2 separate regions of the Homo sapiens genome follow, and region 1 is linked to region 2. Evidence: promoter capture Hi-C in human tissues and cell types (Jung and others, 2019). All regions are on one chromosome and are shown on one strand. Each heading gives the region's core, a stretch centred on a gene start or on the middle of the fragment in contact. The rest is flanking DNA. Distances are from core to core; before and after follow the strand shown.

Region 1 (4,762 bases), core at 1,582-4,081, 190 kb before region 2:
CTAGGAAGTTACATAATTGCACTTCATCCGCGGGGTGCCCTATAGGTCCTCTTTCTGGAACACTCTTCAGTCTTTACCATAATCACTTGTGCAATTTCTGACTTCCCCCAAAGTCACTCTGGGAATGCAGGGACTGCTTGCTGCTTTGGAAAGACTGAGTATTGGGTGAAAATTCATTTCTTTTTCACGAGTTCAGAAAGGACTTGAAGTTTCTGCCAGAATTGTTTCTGCCCCTCCCCTTCTAACTGTGCTTTTCTGACTGCAGTATGGATTTCTCGGTTTGGAGATTTTTTTTCACGTGGTCTTGAAGCAATCCATTATTTTAGCTGCTTCAGTTAATTTAGTATTCCTTGAGTTTCTTTTTTTCCCCTAAGAGTTTTCAAATAAGTATATAACTCAGCCACATCAACACTTTTTTTTTTTTTTGACGGAGTCTCGCTCTGTTGCCCAGGCTGGAAGTGCAGTGGTGCGATCTCGGCTCACTGCAAGCTCCACCTCCTGGGTTCACGCCATTCTCCTGCCTCAGTCTCCTGAGTAGCTGGGACTACAGGCGCCCACCACCACGCTCGGCTAATTTTGTTTGTATTTTTTGTAGAGATGGGGTTTCACTGTGTTAGCCAGGATGGTCTCAATCTCCTGACCTCATGATCCGCCCGCCTTGGCCTCCCAAAGTGCTGGGATTACAGGCATGAGCCACTGCGCCCAGCCTACACATATTTTTTTAAAACTGCTTTTGGTTCATTTTCTAGGTCATCTCTCCTTCGATACATCTAAACCCAAGCTCCTACCTCCTAGCCATTCCTTCTGGGGCGTAAGCTTGCTCATTCTTCCTCTCCATTCTTTGGCCTTGCCAGAGGGCAGTGCCAGGCTTCCCTGAAGAAAGAACTTGGCCTCCAAAGCATCTTCTAATGTTGTCTACACTTGCTTTTTTTTTTTTTTTTTGAGACAGAGTCTTACTCTGTTGCCCAGGCTAGAGTGCAGTGGTGTGACCTCGGCTCATGGCAACCTCTGCCTCCTGGGTTCAAGCAATTCTCCTGCCTCAGCCTCCCGAGTAGCTGGGACTACAGGGATGCACCACCACGCCCAGCTAATTTTTGTATTTTTAGTGGAGACGGGGTTTCACCCTGTTGGCCAGGCTGGTCTTGAACTCCTGACCTCAGGTGGTCTGCCCATCTCAGCCTCTCAAAGTGCACTTGCTCTTTCTTTTGATGGATTTTGAAGGTTGCTTTGGTTGCAGCTACTTGAAATAGGAGGTTTTCATTCATCTTCTTGATCTGGTAAGGTCAGACATCAGACCAATTTGTCTAAACATTTAGATTTCTCATCTTTCAGGTTTTTTTCTAAATTATCTATTTTAAGCTTAAGGAAAGAGTTGGACTTTTTGAGTTCTTTATTTTTATTTATTTTTTTGAGTCGGAGTTTCGCTCTGTCACCAGACTGGAGTGCAGTGGCGTGATCTCAGCTCACTGCAACCTCCGCCTCCTGAGTTCAAGCGATTCTCCTGCCTCAGCCTCTCCCCAACAGGAGAGACCATGTCTCAGCCTCCCATGTAGCTAAGACTACAGGCATGTGCCACCACGCCTGGCTAGTTTTATTTATATTTTTAGTAGACACAGGGTTTCACCATGTTGGCCAGGATGGTCTCGATCTCTTGACCTCGTGATCCGCCCACCTTGGCCTCCCAAAGTGCTGGGATTACAGGCGTGAGCTACCGCCCCCGGCCGAGCTCTTTATTAATTGCCTCCAACACTTCCTTTTTTTTTAAATAAGAAAATCATCTCATGAAACTGTAAAGCCCAGATAGGACTGACTTCATAGCAGTCCGCTGGTCCAGTAGCATTTTTTTGTTTTTGTTTTTCATAGGATCTTGCTCTGTCGCTCAGGCTGGAGTGCAGCAATGTGATCATGGCTCACTGCAGCCTCAACCTCCTAGGCTGAAGCAATTCCCCTACCTCAGTATCCCAAGTAGCTGGGACCACAGGTGCATGCCACCATGCCCAGCTAATGCTTTTGATTTTTAGTAGACACAGGTCTCACCATGTTTCCTAGGCTGTCCAGTAGCTCCATGACATCCTCAGGTACCCACATCTATCTGTCTGTGGCCCCCTGTTGGCTTAATTCTCAGTCTGTTCACAAGATGGCTGCAGCAGTTCCAGAGACCAGGTCCAGAGAAACAGGAGAGACCACGTCTCATCCATCAGCTCTCACTAGGAATGAGGAAATGTTCCCCCGAAGCCCTTAGCCAGTTTCTCCCATCTCACTGGCCTCAACTGGGTCACATACCATTGTAAGCGTGCTTGTGTGTGTGTATTTTTTTTTTTTTTTTTGAGATGGAGTCTCATTCTGTCATCCAGACTGGAGTGCAATGGCATGATCTTGGCTCATTGCAACCTCTGCCTCTGGGGTTCAAGCAATTCTTCTGCCTCAGCCTCCCGTGTAGCTGGAAATACAGGTGAGCACCACCACACCCAGCTAATTTTTTGTATTTTTAGTAGAGACGGGGTTTCACCCTGTTGGCCAGGCTGGTCTCGAACTCCTGACCTCAGGTGATCCAACCGCCTCAGCCTCCCAAAGTGCTGGGATTACAGGCATGAGCCACCGTGCCTGGCCGAGTAGTTTTATATATACACACTCATGTATATATGTATATGTGTGTATGTGTGTGTGTGTGTATATATATAATTATGAAATTTGCCATTTTAAGCATTTTAAGCGTATGATTCTGTGGCATTGATTCTATTCACATTGTTGTGCGACTATCAGCACTATCCACTTCTAAACCCTTTCATCATCCCACACAGAAACTGGGTTCCCATCAAACAACAACTTCCCATTCCCTTCCTTCCCCAACCCCTGGTAACCTCTATTCTACTTTCCATCGCTATGAATTTCACTATTCTAGATATTTCAGACACGTGGAATAATAGAGTATTTGTCATTTCGTATAAGGTTTATCACACTTAGCATAATGTCCTCAAGATTCACACACATTGTAGGATGTACATGTGGTATATCCATTGTATATTTATCCATCCATCCATTAATGGACATTTGGGTTGTTCTTACCTTTTGGTTATTATGAATAATGCTGCAGTGAACATTGACTTACAAGTATCTGTTTGAGTCCTTGTTTTAAACTCTAGTGAACATATGCTTTGGGGGAGGATTGCTGAATCATATGGAAATTCTATGTTTAGCTTTTTAGGGAACTGCCAAACTCTTTCCCACACTGGCTGCACCTGCACCATTTTACATTACTACCAGCAATGTATGAGGTTTCCCATTTCTCCATGTCTTCATCAACATTTTCCTTTTTTAAAATGTATAGCGGCTGGGCCTGGTGGCTCACGCCTATAATCCCAGCACTTTGGGAGGCCGAGGTGGGCGGATCATGAGGTCAGGAGATCGAGACCTCATGATGGCCAACATGGTAAAACCCGATCTCTACTAAAATTCAAAAAATTAGCTGGGCCTGGTGGCGCGTGCCTGTAATGCCAGCTATGTGGCAGGCTGAGGCAGGAGAGTCCCTTAAACCTGGGAGGCAGAGGTTGCAGTGAGCTGAGATCACGCCACTGCACTCCAGCCTGGCGACAGAGCAAGACTCCATCTCAAAAATAAAATAAAATAAAATAAATAAAATAAAATAAATAAAATAAAATGTATAGCTATCCTAGTAGATGATGCAGTTGTATTACTGTGGTTTTGACTTGTATTATCCTAATGATTAAGGATATTGACATCTTTTATGTGCTTATTGGCCATTTGCATATCTTCTTTAGAGAAATGTCTATTCAAGACCTTTGCCTGTGTTTTAATTGGATTGTTTATCTTTTTTTGTTGAGCGTTGTTCTTTATGTATTTTGGAGATTCATCTCTTATCAATTATATATTTTGCATATTTTATCCCATCTGTACTTTGTCTTTTAACTTTTCTTGGTAATGTCCGTTCATGTACAAAAGTTTTTAATTTTGATAAAGCCCAATTTTTCTTTGTTGGTGTTGCTCATGCTTTTGGTGTCATATGTAGGAACCCATTGCCAGCTCCAAGGACCTGATTTACCCCTATGCTTTCTTCCAGGTGTTTCAAGTTTAGTTCTTATATTTAGATTGTTGATCCATTGATCAATAATTCTATGAATATTTTATTTACATGATTTTATGAACCATGTAGGGGAGAGGCCAACCTCATTCTTTTTCAAGTGGAAATCCAGTTGTCACAGTACCACTTGTTGAAAAGATAGTTCTTTCACCATTTGGCACTCATGTCAAAAATCAGTCATAGACATATGAGCTTATTTCTGGACTCTCAGTTCCATTGGACCATATATCCTTATGCCAAACCTGTTTTGATTATTGTAGCTTTGTAGTAAGTTCTGACATTGGGAAGTGTGAGTCCGACTTTGTGCTGCCTTTACAGATTGTTTTGGCAACTTCAAGTTTGTGTGTGTGTGTGTGTGTGTGTGTGTGTGTGTTTTAATGCCTTGCGGGGATTTTTTTTTTTTAATGAATTTGAGGATCAGTTTTTCTATTTCTGCAAAAACGCTGTTGGTATTTGAGTAGGATTGCATTGACTCTGTAGATAGCATTGGGTAGTACTGACAACAATATCAAATCTTCCTATGACCATATGATGTCTTTCCATTTCATTAGGTCTTCTTTAATTTCTTTTAGCCATTTTTAAAATTTTTCACTGTGTAAGTTTTCATCTTCTTGGTTAAAGTCATCTTTTGGGTAAAATTTGTTTCTAGGTATTTTATTCTTT
Region 2 (5,170 bases), core at 1,839-4,338:
AGCCACCTCGCCGGACCAATACTAGAAATTTTAACATGCATATTCCTTACTCAACAGTTCTATTTCTGGAAGGATAACCTAAAGAAAAAAAATCACACATGTGCTTTAAGTTGTAGGAACAGGATTTTTCGGAGCATAACTGATTTAAGAAAATTTTAAATGTGTTCATCAATGTGCAAACAGTTAAACAAGTTATGGTACACACAACAGCATACAATACAGTTGTTTTATTTTTATGTTTTTTTTTTTTTTTTTTTAGAGACAGTCTCACTCTAGCACCCAGGGCTCACTGCGGCCTTCATCTACCATGCTCAAGGGATTCTCCCACCTAGGGCTACGGGCACATACCATCCCACCGGGCTAACGTTTTTTCAATGATTTTTTGTAGAGACAGGGTCTTGCTACTTAGCCAGGTTTGTCTCAAACTCCTGGCCTCAGGGAATCGGATTCCTCCCACCTCAGCCTCCCAAAGTGCTGGGATTACACGCATGAGGCACCAAGCCCAGCCATAATACAGTTGTTTTAAATAAATAGTTGACTTAGATATGACAAAATTTCTAAGTGAAAAATCAAATCACAGAACACTGAAGAGAGTTTCATCCTACACGGAGATGGGATACATGCACACACACAGACACGCTAAACAGACACACACGTAAACTGTTGAGATTCTCTCTGAAGAGGGGCATGTCAGAAGTCACAACAAGAATATATGGCTGGGTACAGTGGCTCATGTCTGTAATCCCAGCACTTTGGGAGGCTAAGGCGGAACTGTTGGAAGCCAGGAGTTCAAGACCTGCCTGGGCAACACAGCAAGACCCCACCTAATTTTTTTTTTTTTTTTGAGTCTCGCTCTGTTGCCCAGGCTGAAGTGCAGTGGCGCGATCTGGGCTCACTGCAAGATCTGCCTCCCGGGTTTACGCCATTCTTCTGCCTCAGCCTCCCAAGTAGCTGGGACTACAGGTGCCCGCCGCTACGACCGGCTAATTTTTTGTTATTTTTTTTAGTAGAGGCGGGGTTTCACCGTGTTAGCCAGGATAGTCTCCATCTCCTGACCTCGTGATCCGCCCGCCTCGGCCTCCCAAAGTGCTGGGATTACAGGCGTGAGCCACTGCGCCTGGCCTAATTTTTTTTAATGGAAAAAAAAAATAATATGAATGGATCACTAAAAGTTGTGGGTTTTTTTTTTTTTTAATGATTGTGAAAAAAGTTTTCTCATACTCACTTTTCCCCTCCCACCTGCACTCTTCCAATTGCGCTCTTCATGTTGCAGCCACTGGATTTTTGGCAACCACAAATCTGATCCCTGTTCTAAAATCTTTAATGGCCCTGGTCCTAGATGCAGCTCCTCCTACTTGCCTGACCCATCTGTCAGCCTACTCCCCTCTGTTTGCTCTGCTCTTGTACTCTTGCTGCTCGGCCGGAGAGTCTTTTTAATTCTGGACCATTTTTCATTAGCTGTTCCACCTTTCTGGATTGCTCTTTTTCCAGTTGACCTCTCTTCCACCCGCTCCCATTTCACTGGACTAACTTCAGACTTATAGTTGAAATGTCTTATTCTCAGAAAAGCAATCTCAGACTTGTGAGTCTAAATTCGACATCTCTTTCAGTACTCTTAGCCTTTTCTTTATAACAAAGAAATTGTAATTAAATATCTGTTAATTATTATCTTTTTTACTGACTACTTCCCCCACTCACACACAAGGACAAAGACTTCGTCTGGCTTGTTCACTACTTTGGCCCAACAGCTGGCTTAACCCGCATCTCGCCTGACACACTAGAATGACACAGTGGAATTTTTGGATGGTAGGTTTATGTGGCTTCCAAAAAACAGTAGTTTCTACTCTAGTTCCTAACTAGAAGGATTTCCTTTAGAATCATAAAATGCAAATTTAAGCAATCCTATCAGAAGTTGGTTAAAAAAAGTACCCAAAACCCAAAAGTTAGTCATGAAATATGTATACTCTTACATGACTGGTGGCCACAATATGGTTGGTTAATTGCTTTTTGATAAAGCAATATAACATACAGCAAATGCCATTTAAGGTAACACTATATTTTGTCCCAGTATTCCCAATAAAGAAAATGCAAGCGAGTAATTCAACAGCAGTTACGCATATCGTTTTCGAATAATGTTAACCTATTTTCTAAAGCCTGCACAGCATATTACATGCACAAATAATCCAACAAGGTTAACTAGAGCTCAGCAACGGGTTATGTTAGAAACTGAGTTAATGCAGTTGTGGGTTACATTACAAATGTACACGGTTATGGGAATTTTCCCCGTAATTCTTTAAAAACTTTTAATATTAGTCTAAAATATTGCCAAACGTTTTAAGAGTTGGGTCTCGCTCTTAGGTAGAATTCGAGTAACCACAGACACAATTAACATTTACACACCAAAGAACCCATCATTAGCACGACAACCGTCCCGGGTGGGGGCGGGGCGGGACCTTCAGACCTCGTCTTTCATGGGAACACACCTGCCTCTCCTTTCCCAAGAGACTGAAGTTTTTCTCAAATACAGGTTAGCTCGAAAAGTCCACCAAGACAGTGACACAAACTCAGTTCGTTTTTCCCCTTCCCTTGCGACTTTTGTCTCTCCCGCTGGACGGCAGCCCAGCGGACCAGCGAGGGGTACCCGCGGCTCGGGGAGCGCGTCCGCTCGGCAAACATTAACCCGGCTGCCCCGGGCCCTCCGCCCCGGCCCGTCGCGCGGTATCGACCGAAACTCGGCGGCCCTGCCTCATTGGCCGCCGCCGCCCCTCCCTCCGGCGGGATTAATGCCCTGCCGGCCCGACGAGAGAGGGGCCGGCCGCCCTAGGGTCTGGGTGCGGCCCCCGCCCGCCTCCCCGGGGACAAGGCCGCTACCGCAGGCGCGGGCGAGGAAGGGTCCACTCGGCTAGGAGCGCAGCGGACTGTACTGCGGCGCCGCCGCCGGGCCTCGCGCTTACCTGAGCTGGGGACGGCGCAGCCCCGGCGACCAGAGCGGGGAAGAGCCGAGCAAGGCTGAGAAAGGGGCGGCTCCTCGGTAGACGCCGAGAAATGGCGCCCACAACGAGCCCACCGGCTCTAATCCCCGGAGGACCCCGACCTCCCGCCCGTCCACCCCTTAAAGCTCCCTCCCAGCTCCGCCCCCAGGGCGGAGCGCTCCGCTCTTAAACGGGCGATGACACCGCCCCGGAAATTGGCCGGCGCGGCGACTGGAGAGAAACCGGCGAGGCCGGGCCCGGCCGGGCTGGAACTAGCGCCAGCAGCCGGGCGTCCGCGGCTGGTTTAAAGGGGCGCTGCCGAAACCCAGTTCCCGCTGCGGCCCTCCGCCCGCGGAGGAGGCGCCCGTCCGCAGACAGACCCCAGTTAGTCCTATCACGAAGGAGGCTGGTGGAGCTGGCTGCTAGATTCATTCATCCATTCGTTCAAGAGATTAAATCCTTCGCAAATACTTATTGAGAGCCTGTCACGTATTTCCTCCCTTTTTCTCCTTTGTAGGGATTAAAATACATTTAAATCTCTGCTGTTAAAGTGACTTTCACTCTACTGGGGAAACAGTAAACAAATAGGTGTCACAAGGTGATTAAGTGTAAATGAGGAAAAATAAAACTGGGAAAGAGAAATAAAAGATTACTGCTTAGCAGAGTGTGGTCAGGAGGGTACTCTAACAAGGTGACATTCAGTCCGTTCATTCTACAGGTAATTGATTGAAGTGCCTACTTACTGTGAGTTCTGTGTTCTAGACACGAGATACGACAGACAACCAAGACAGACAAAAATCCTTCCCGGAGTTTACGTTATAGCAGGAATATAAACGAGACATAAAATAAACGAGATAAATTAGTGAAATTAAATACTGTCAGACATTGGTAAATGCTAAAAAGAAAAGTACAAGTAGGGAATAACCACAGGCAGTGAGGGTTTGCGATTTTACATAGCAGGTCACAATAAGAAGGTGGCATTTGGCTGGGCGCGGTGGCTCACTCCTGTAATCCCAACACTTTGGGAGGCCGAGGCGGGCGGATCACGAGGTCAGGAGATCGAGACCAGCCTGGCCAACACTGTGAAACTCCGTCTCCACTAAAAATACAAAAATTAGCTGAGCCTGGTGGCGTCCGACTGTAGTCCCAGCTACTCAGGAGGCTGAGGCAGGGGAATCGCTCGAACCCGGGAGGCGGAAGTTGCAGTGAGCCCAGATCACGCCACTGCACTCCAGCCTGGCGACAAAGCCAGACTCAGTCTCAAAAAAAAAAAAAAAGGTAGCATTTGAATGAAGACCTAGAGGAGGTGTGGGAGGAACCCTGTGGCCATCTGGGGAGAACCGAAGGGAACAGCAAGGGCAAAAGGCCCTGCAAGGGGACAGGTCTGTCTTTTCAAGGAAGTCCAGTGTGGCTAGAAGTGAGGAAGCAAGAGGAAGAGGAGGTGACAGTCAGAGAGGAAAGGGGTAAGATGTAGGGCCTTGTGGGCCCTGGCTAGAGCTCTGAGAGAGGTGGGGGAGCCACTGGAAGGTGTTACCTTGAGGACCCTCTGCTTGCTGAAATGAAAAGAGACAAATACTCATTGAGCTTCTTCTCGGGATTTGGCACTGCCCACTCCTCCACCACCCCAAAACGTAGTAGACAGGCTTGGCAGCTCATCTCTGCCCCATGTGGTGTTGGCTGGGCAGCTCAACAGGTGCTGGAGCTGCCAAGGTGGTTTCACTGGTCTGTGTGGCATCTCCGCTGGGGTGGCTGCAAAGAACAGCTGAGTTCTGCCTGGGCTACTCTCTTGCAGATCCGCTGGTGTGGCAAAACAGTGAAAACAGAAGCTCTGAGGCCTATGAAGGGCTATGCCCAGCAGTCACGGAGCGTCCCTTCTGCTGCCTGTTAATGGTTTAAGCAAATCACAGAGGCCGCCCAGTTTCAAGGAGATGAAAGAGACTCTACCTCTTTTTTTTTCTTTAAATATTATTAAAATAGAGAAATTTTCCTTCTCCACCTTTTAAAAACATCTTTATTGAGATATAATGCACCCACTTAAAGTGTACACTTCCATGGCTTTGGGTATTTTCACAGAGTTGTAGAACCACAAACCACAATCTAATTGTGGAATATTTTCATCACTCTTCATGAGAGGAGCAGCATGGGTGTTCAGGGATGGGAGGAATTGTTGCTGGTCATCTTGCATCTTTATCTCAACA

Evidence for each region. The method cuts DNA at HindIII sites, captures the fragments that hold promoters and counts their contacts. A contact is called where the count stands out against the background at its distance.
Region 1: a contact is called between a fragment that was not itself captured here and the fragment with the promoter of EPB41L5 in region 2, in 1 of the 25 tissues and cell types used here (spleen).

Annotation. Positions count from the first base shown.
Region 1 is chr2:120,198,712-120,203,473 of GRCh38, reverse strand. No RefSeq gene overlaps it. Among named protein-coding and RNA genes, the nearest start is that of TMEM185B, 22 kb to the left of the region's middle. The HindIII fragment of the contact is 3,485 bases long and covers 1,089-4,573 here.
Region 2 is chr2:120,010,995-120,016,164 of GRCh38, reverse strand. It overlaps EPB41L5 (erythrocyte membrane protein band 4.1 like 5), which reads right to left and starts at 3,088. Exons shown (of 25, transcript NM_020909.4): 1 at 2,955-3,088. It overlaps LOC107985817 (a long non-coding RNA gene), which reads right to left. Exons shown (of 4, transcript XR_001739205.2): 3 at 4,507-4,525; 4 at 3,461-3,772. RefSeq lists a silencer at 2,743-2,912. The HindIII fragment of the contact is 14,132 bases long and covers 1-5,170 here.